Regions from separate parts of the Homo sapiens genome. Here region 1 is linked to region 2. The links are contacts of gene promoters, found by promoter capture Hi-C in blood cells and fetal thymus (Javierre and others, 2016). All regions are on one chromosome and are shown on one strand. The core of a region is centred on a gene start or on the middle of the fragment in contact, and the rest is flanking DNA. Distances in the headings are between cores, read along the strand shown.

Evidence for each region. The method cuts DNA at HindIII sites, captures the fragments that hold promoters and counts their contacts. A CHiCAGO score of 5 or more calls a contact.
Region 1: a contact is called between a fragment that was not itself captured here and the fragment with the promoter of ZDHHC12 in region 2, in 1 of 17 cell types (endothelial precursors). The highest score is 5.2, in endothelial precursors.

Annotation. Positions count from the first base shown.
Region 1 is chr9:128,638,767-128,642,467 of GRCh38, reverse strand. It overlaps DYNC2I2 (dynein 2 intermediate chain 2), which reads left to right. Exons shown (of 9, transcript NM_052844.4): 2 at 1,529-1,777. Among named protein-coding and RNA genes, the nearest start is that of DYNC2I2, 16 kb to the left of the region's middle. RefSeq lists an enhancer at 1,006-1,610. The HindIII fragment of the contact is 4,104 bases long and covers 1-3,521 here.
Region 2 is chr9:128,722,397-128,726,079 of GRCh38, reverse strand. It overlaps ZDHHC12 (zDHHC palmitoyltransferase 12), which reads left to right and starts at 1,953. Exons shown (of 5, transcript NM_032799.5): 1 at 1,953-2,086; 2 at 3,506-3,642. The coding sequence starts at 1,987. It overlaps ZDHHC12-DT (ZDHHC12 divergent transcript), which reads right to left and starts at 1,618. Exons shown (of 2, transcript NR_046240.1): 1 at 1,445-1,618. RefSeq lists a silencer at 1,585-2,064. The HindIII fragment of the contact is 13,716 bases long and covers 140-3,683 here.

The DNA.
Region 1 (3,701 bases), core at 220-2,719, 83 kb after region 2:
TTTTTTTTTTTTTTGAGAAAGTCTCCTACCATAGGCCAGGCTGGAGTGCAGTGGCATGATCTCGGCTCAGTGCAACCTCCGCCTCCCGGGTTCAAGCAGTTCTCCTGCCTCAGCCTTCTGAGTAGCTAGGATTACAGGCACGCGCCACCACACCCGGCTAATTTTTTTTTTTTTTTTTTTTGAGACGGAGTCTTGCTCTGTCGCTCAGGCTGGAGTGTAGTGGCACGATCTTGGCTCACTGCAAGCTCCGCCTCCTGGGTTCACGCCATTCTCCTGCCTCAGCCTCCCGAGTAGCTGGGACTACAGATGCTCGCCACTATGCCCAGCTAATTTTTTGTATTTTTAGTACAGATTGGGTTTCACCGTGTTAGCCAGGATGGTCTTGATCTCCTGATCTTGTGATCCGCCCGCCTCGGCCTCCCAAAATTCTGGGATTACAGGCGTGAGCCACCGTGCCCGGCATTTGTGTGTGTGTGTGTGTGTGTGTGTGTATGTATATAAATGAACATCTGCTTTGTGCCAAATACCATGCAAAGTGCTGGGGATACAAAGATCAGACAAGAGTCTTATGCTGGGGGGCTGGCGGTTCAGTAGGACACAGACAAGCAGAGAGAACTGAGTGGCCTGTGGAGGTGAGGGTGGGTACCAGTGCTGAGGCCTGTGTGTTCAGAAGAGAACTGTCCTGGTGAGTCCTGCCCTCTTCCTCCGGGCTTGCCTCCTGGCCCAGCTCGAATCCCGCATGAGATGGGAAGGAGGGAGTGTGGCAGTCCAGGGCCTTGTCATTGTCCCTTGAGCAGCCACCCGAGGAGAGCCCCTCACAGATAGCAGCAATCACCATGATTGCTTCCGCCCAGAGAGCCTTGGTTTGGTGAAGATTGGGCATGTCTGTAAGAAAGGGAGGCTGGCCTCTCCTGCCCTGTTCTGATGTTTGTACCTGTGCCAGGTACAGCTAAGCAGGGGACCAGGAATAGTAGGCGTGGTGGCAGGGTGGAGAGCAAGGCCTCTGGGGGCAGTGCTCTGCCTCCCACCTAGCAGCTCATAGTGGATGCTGAAGCTGCTGTTGCTTACCCGGGTGCTGGGAGGGCTGCCCGTTGAGGGAGGGCCTGGTGGTGTGAAGCTGGGGTGTTCATGGGCATCAGACCATGTGTCTGCCAGGGTGCTGCTGTGAGCCGATGTGGTTCTGCCTGCCCTCCGCATCTTCAGAAAGGGAGCCCTCTGACTCCTCCGAATTGTTGCACCAAAAGTCTTGGGGCAGGGTCTCACTGGCCTGTGTTGGTCACTTGGCCAGCCCTGAATTGGTCACTGTGGCTGAGGTAGGGACACGGTGCTCTGATTGGCTGGCACTGATTGGTTGTGGGACATAGGAGAATCAAGGGGCCATCTCCAACCAAGACCTCACTGAGAGAGGCCCCTAGCCTGAGACCCACAGCAGCAAGGAGGGGGTCAAGCAGGAGGGGCAGGCAGGGGGCTGGGTGGGGGCTGTGCGAGGACAGCTGGGTGGTGACACTTGTTTTCACCCTCCCCCCAGAAAAGTTGCCAGACGGCCAGCATTGCCACTGCCAGTGCATCCGCCCAGGCCAGGAATCATGTGGACGCCCAGGTGCAGACGGAGGCCCCCGTGCCTGTCAGCGTGCAGCCCCCGTCCCAGTATGACATACCCAGGCTCGCAGCCTTTCTTCGGAGAGTGGAGGCCATGGTCATCCGAGAGCTGAACAAGAATTGGCAGAGCCACGCGTTTGATGGCTTCGAGGTGAACTGGACCGAGCAGCAGCAGATGGTAGGGGATGGGCTGGTGCAGCCTCGGGTCGAGCCCCTGCCCCACTTCTGTCTCCTCTTGTTTTCCTTCCCACAAATAACAGCCGTGCCAGTCATCATCACGGCCAGCAATCACCAGGCTCTAATGTCCTGCCTGGTACTGCGCTAGGTTCCCTAAGAATAAGTCAGTGAGCCTTCACTGCTGACCTTGAGGTCGGTATTGTTCTGTCCACTTTACAGTTAGGGAGATGGACACCCTATATGGAAGTAACGTCCAGAGTGAAACTGAGCAGCTGAGCAGTGGAGGCAGGCTAGAGTCTGGGTGGCCCGGCTGCCCTGCCTCCCCATGTACGGTGCAGTGAGGGCCTTCTTTGGGCCAGGCACAGTTTAAGAATGTCTCCTTGGCCAGGTGTGGTGGCTCACGCCTGTAATCCCAGCACTTTGGGAGGCCGAGGCGGGCGGATCACAATGTCAGGAGATGGAGACCATCCTGGCTAACACGGTGAAACCCCGTCTCTACTAAAAATACAAAAAAAAATTAGCCGGGCGTAGTGGCAGGTGCCTATAGTCCTAGCTACTCTGGAGGCTGAGGCAGGAGAATGGCGTGAGCCCGGGAGGTGGAGCTTGCAGTGAGCTGAGGTCACGCCACTGCACTCCAGCCTGGGCAACAGAGCGAGACTCTGTCTCAAAAAAAAAAAAAGAATGTCTCCTGTGGTATCTTCTTCACTCCTCAAAACAACTGTATGAGGCTGGGCACAGTGGCTCACGCCTGTAATCCCAGCACTTTGGGAGGCCAAGGTGGGTGGATCACCTGAGGTTGGCAGTTCGAGACCAGCCTGGCCAACATAGTGAAACCTCCTCTCTACTAAAAATACAAAAATTAGCCAGGCGTGGTGGTGCACGCCTGTTGTTCCAGCTACTCGGGAGGCTGAGGCAGGAGAATCACTTTAACCCGGGAGACGGAGCTTGCAGTGAGCTGAGACTGTGCCACTGCACTCCTGCCTGGGTGACAGAGCAAGACTCCATCTCAAAAAAAGACAAAAAAACAACAAAAAAAAACTGTATGAGGTAGTGCTATTATAATCTTCAGTTTATAGATGAGGCTGAGAGAGGCTAAGTGACATATCCAGGTCCACACACACAGCTCCAGAACTTGAACCCCAGTCTCTCTGGTTTCACTGCCATGCTCTGGGTCATCTGCCCTCCAAGTACAGTCCAGAGTCATGACCCTGTAAATGCTGATGGGCAGTTGGGCAGACAGTATTGGGTTTGAGATGAGGGAGCTTTTGTCTTTTTCTTTTTTTTTTATTTTTTTGAGACAGAGTCTCGCTCTGTCACCCAGGATGGAGTGCAGTGGCATGATCTTGGCTCACTGCAACCTCTGCCTCCCGGGTCCAAGCAATTCTCCTGTCTCAGCCTCCTGAGCAGCTGGGATTACAGGCACCCGCCACCACGCCCGGCTAATTTTGTATTTTTGGTAGAGATGGATTTCACCATGTTGGTCAGGTTGGTCTCGAATTCCTGACCTCAGGTGATCTGCCTGCCTTGGCCTCCCAAAGTGCTGTGATTACAGGCGTGAGCCACCTCGCCTGGCCAAAAAAATTTTTTTAGAGTTAGGGTCTTCCTATGTTGCCCAGGCTGTAGTTCAGATGGGCTCAAGAGATGCTCCTGCCTCAGCCTCCTGAGATGATTTTTTACAAAGTATAAACATTCCTTGAACCAAAATCCAGATCAAGAAAGTGAACATTACAAGGCCTGTAAAAGCTTCCTTCCACCTCCTAGCCCATTGTATAGCTTTGTTTGAAAATAATAGGTTCATGCGTGTTGTGGCTTGGGTTGGTGCTGCGTTCCTTTTTACAGCTGCATGGTGTTGCATGGACAGACCACATTCATTTAGCCACTCATCAGCTAATGGACATTTGGGCTATTCCCCTTTTTGGCTATAG
Region 2 (3,683 bases), core at 704-3,203:
TGCACAAACAGAAGTTTCAGTTGGTTCACACTGGGCTCTCCGCCCTATCAGTAGTATATTGTTAATTAAAATCTGGCCTTACTATTTGAACTAGTGTTGGGATGTTTGATACTAGCACAGTGCCTAACCCACGGAAGCTTCAGAATTATGTGCTGAGTGGATAATGTGCTGGATGTCCCCACTGAGCACATCAGATCCTGCACCCAGTGCAGTAGTCAAGACTTAGCTGCAAATGACAGACACCCAACTCAAACATCTACTCAGGCTAGTCAAAGGTGGGAATTGGGGCCAGGCATGGTGGCTCACACCTGTAATCCCAGCACTTTGAGAGGCTGAGTTAGGCAGATCACTTGAAGTCAGGAATTCGAGACCAGCCTGGACAACATAGTGAAACCCTGTCTCTACTAAAAATACAAAAATTAGCTGGGCGTGGTGGCATGTGCCTGTAACCCCAGCTACTTGGGAGGCTGAGGCAGGAGAATCACTTGAACTTGGGAGGTGGAGGTTGCAGTGAGCCCAGATCGCGCCACTGCACTCCAGCCTAGGCAACAGAGTGAGGCTCTGTCTCAAAAAAAAAAAAAAAAAAAAGGTGGGCATTCATTGACTCTTGCAACCAGGGGATGCAGAGTCAGTATCAGCTTCAGGGACAGCCGGATCTAGAGGGCTCAGACAATGTTGTTCAGACCATCTCTTGCTCCCTCCTTTAGTGCTGCTTATCCATCTCTATGTGTCTTTATAAGTTGGTCTCATTTTCTCCAGCCACAGACAGGGTAAGCCCTCTCCGCCCAGCGTAAAGACGGCTCCCAGTTGCCTTATATCCCATTCCTTAGGCTTGAGATCCAAAAGAATGCTCCTTCCTCTCAGCATCTAGACAGTAATCTCATGGAAGGCCTGTGATTGGTTCTGCAGAGTCGAAAGCCCACAGCCTGCCGCTCGCCATCCTATGGGGTGAGGGGCAGTCCCTCCAATCACATGGGATGGGAAGTCGATTCCCCAACCAAAAAAAGGATGTTGAGCTGAGAAAAACAACAGATGTCAGAGGAGTATCCTGGAGGAGCTGGGATGGGGCCAATCAGAGGGAGGCGGAGGAGGATGCTGGTATCAGTGGGAGGTGCTGTGGAAAGGCGGGGCTGAGTGGAGAAGGCCCTGGGGACACAGGGAAGGAGGACAGCCTGCAGCCTCCGGTGAGGAAAGTCCGCCTGTAGGTGGTGGCTCACAGCAGGAGAGGCAAGACAGTCCCGTGCTAGACAAGGCGCTTCCATTATTTAATCCTCCCAAACACCTTAGGAGGAAGACACTATTGTAATCCCCCTTATAGAGACAGAAAACAGCTCAGAGGGGCTCAGTAACTCGCCCAGGGTCACACAGGTAGGAAGGGGCAGTGCTGGGATTTCTGACTCCCGCCTAAGTTGGATCACCCATAGTCAGAATGTGCACCACGTACCTCCACTTTTCTCTCGTCCGTTTGCAATATCTGAGAATACATAGCAAGGAGGTAAAGCTGTCACCACAGAGCAACCTTGGGCGAGCCTTGGCCCTCTCGAGACTTTAGTCATCACATCTTTGAAATGGGTACAATTTTGCCTCCCGGACTCACAGCAAGCCGCTGGATCTTCGAAGCGCCCAGGGAGCTACGCGCATGCGCGAGGCTGCGAGGGCGGGCACAGGGGAACGCGGGGGAGGGCACAGCGGAGCGCGGGGGAGGTGCGCGCGCGCTCCGGCGCTTTCAAAAGTTACCTGGCGGGTGGGGCTGGAGTTGAGGGAGTTACCAGCTGCGCGCGCGCCGGCCCCACCCTCAGCCTCTTCAGGCACCTGTTGGCTTGAGGGTCCATTCGGCCGCAGATGCCATCCAATAGGCAGCCTCCCTGACCCAGTCCGGCCCCGCCCAACGCCTAGATCCACCAGTCCCCGGGCGGCGGCGTTCCCCTCCCTCGGAGGGCCCGCCCCTCTGGGCGCTTCTTCCGGGTGGGGCCCCGGGCCGAGGCGATGGCGCCCTGGGCGCTCCTCAGCCCTGGGGTCCTGGTGCGGACCGGGCACACCGTGCTGACCTGGGGAATCACGCTGGTGCTCTTCCTGCACGATACCGGTGAGCCGGACCCCGAGCGACCCCGGACCCACCCGATCCCGCGTACTTCCCCAGACGTTCTGGTCACACTGGGTCTCCCGCCTAATCCCTGGAGATCCTGGGATTGGCCCGATCTCCACCAGCTCCTGAAGCCCTCTCCCCATCTATCATTCCAAGAGCCACCTGCTCTCTGTCTGATACCCCGTTGATCCCTAATTAATCCCAGCATCTTCCTGATCATTGCCAAATGCCCTGTCCATCCCAGGACCCAGCCGGTGCCCACCAGATCCAAGGACCGACTTGAGCCCCATGTCCCCTGATCCTGGGACCCACATGATCCTTCCCAGGAACTGACCCCAAATCTTCCTATCCATACGATTAGGAGGCTCAACTAGATGCAAAGATTGGCATTCTGCCCACACCCACACCCCCCACACCCCCATGGCCACTAGCTGCCCAAGTCCAGGCAAACCCTCAGGCCAGAGAACACTCCATGGGGTGCGGCCTGTCTCCCATCTTCCCACAGATTCACCCACCCACCCACCTCCATTTCCCTCATTCCTCTTAGTAGCCCCCTACCCAGCGCCTCACCTGCCACAGGCAGCCTCCCCCACTGTCCCCCACAGCAGACCCCAGCCCTCCTTCCATGGCGGTCCAGCCTCAGTTTCTGGACTGGGGCCCCTTCTGGCTTTCCTCCCAAGACAGACCTCCTCCACCACCTTCACCCTTTAGCCTAAAAACTTGCTCAGGTCTCCGTATCAGAAAACCCCCCTCAAAACCCACCCTTTCTTCTCTGCTCCCCCTTACAACCAAGGGACACAGGATTTGTCTACACTCTGCTGTCTGGTGGTCTCATGCCCCCTCACTCCTTGCCCTGCACCCTACCTCCCCAAAATCCTGTCACCTCCCTGGGCTGAAGCCTGCTGGACCCTTCCGTATGCCCCTCTGCAGCATCTGAGCCTGCCAGCTGCACCCTTCCCACTGTATCTCTCTCAGGCATTTCAGACCTAACCAGTCTCTCACCATTGCAGAGCCAGAGACGCTGGACCCCTCTTCCCTCTCTCCCACATCCAGTCAGGTCTGGCTCCCTTGACCCAGCAGCCCCCTGTCCATTCCTTCCTCCCTCACTTCCTGCCAGGCCTTTGTAGCGACTCTCTTCTTCCTCCTGGCCAGATTCTCTGCCCCCAGGCTTCCCCTGATCCATTTCTTTAGCAATGAGGTTTTCCAAAACAGATCTGGCTCTATAACCTTCCATGGTTCCCTCTGACCCTCCAGATAAAAGTGCAGATGAACTGCTGGCCACACACAGCCACTCATGGAACCAACATCTCCAGGCCTTTGCTCAGCCAGGAACACACTTCCCCACCTCCAACTGCACCCCAACCCCACCCACTCCTGTTCTACCCGGCCCAGCCTCACTGTGCTCTCCGGCCTCTCCAGAGCTGCGGCAATGGGAGGAGCAGGGGGAGCTGCTCCTGCCCCTCACCTTCCTGCTCCTGGTGCTGGGCTCCCTGCTGCTCTACCTCGCTGTGTCACTCATGGACCCTGGCTACGTGAATGTGCAGCCCCAGCCTCAGGTAACCAGGGGCCCCTACTCTCACCAACAGGGACCTAACAA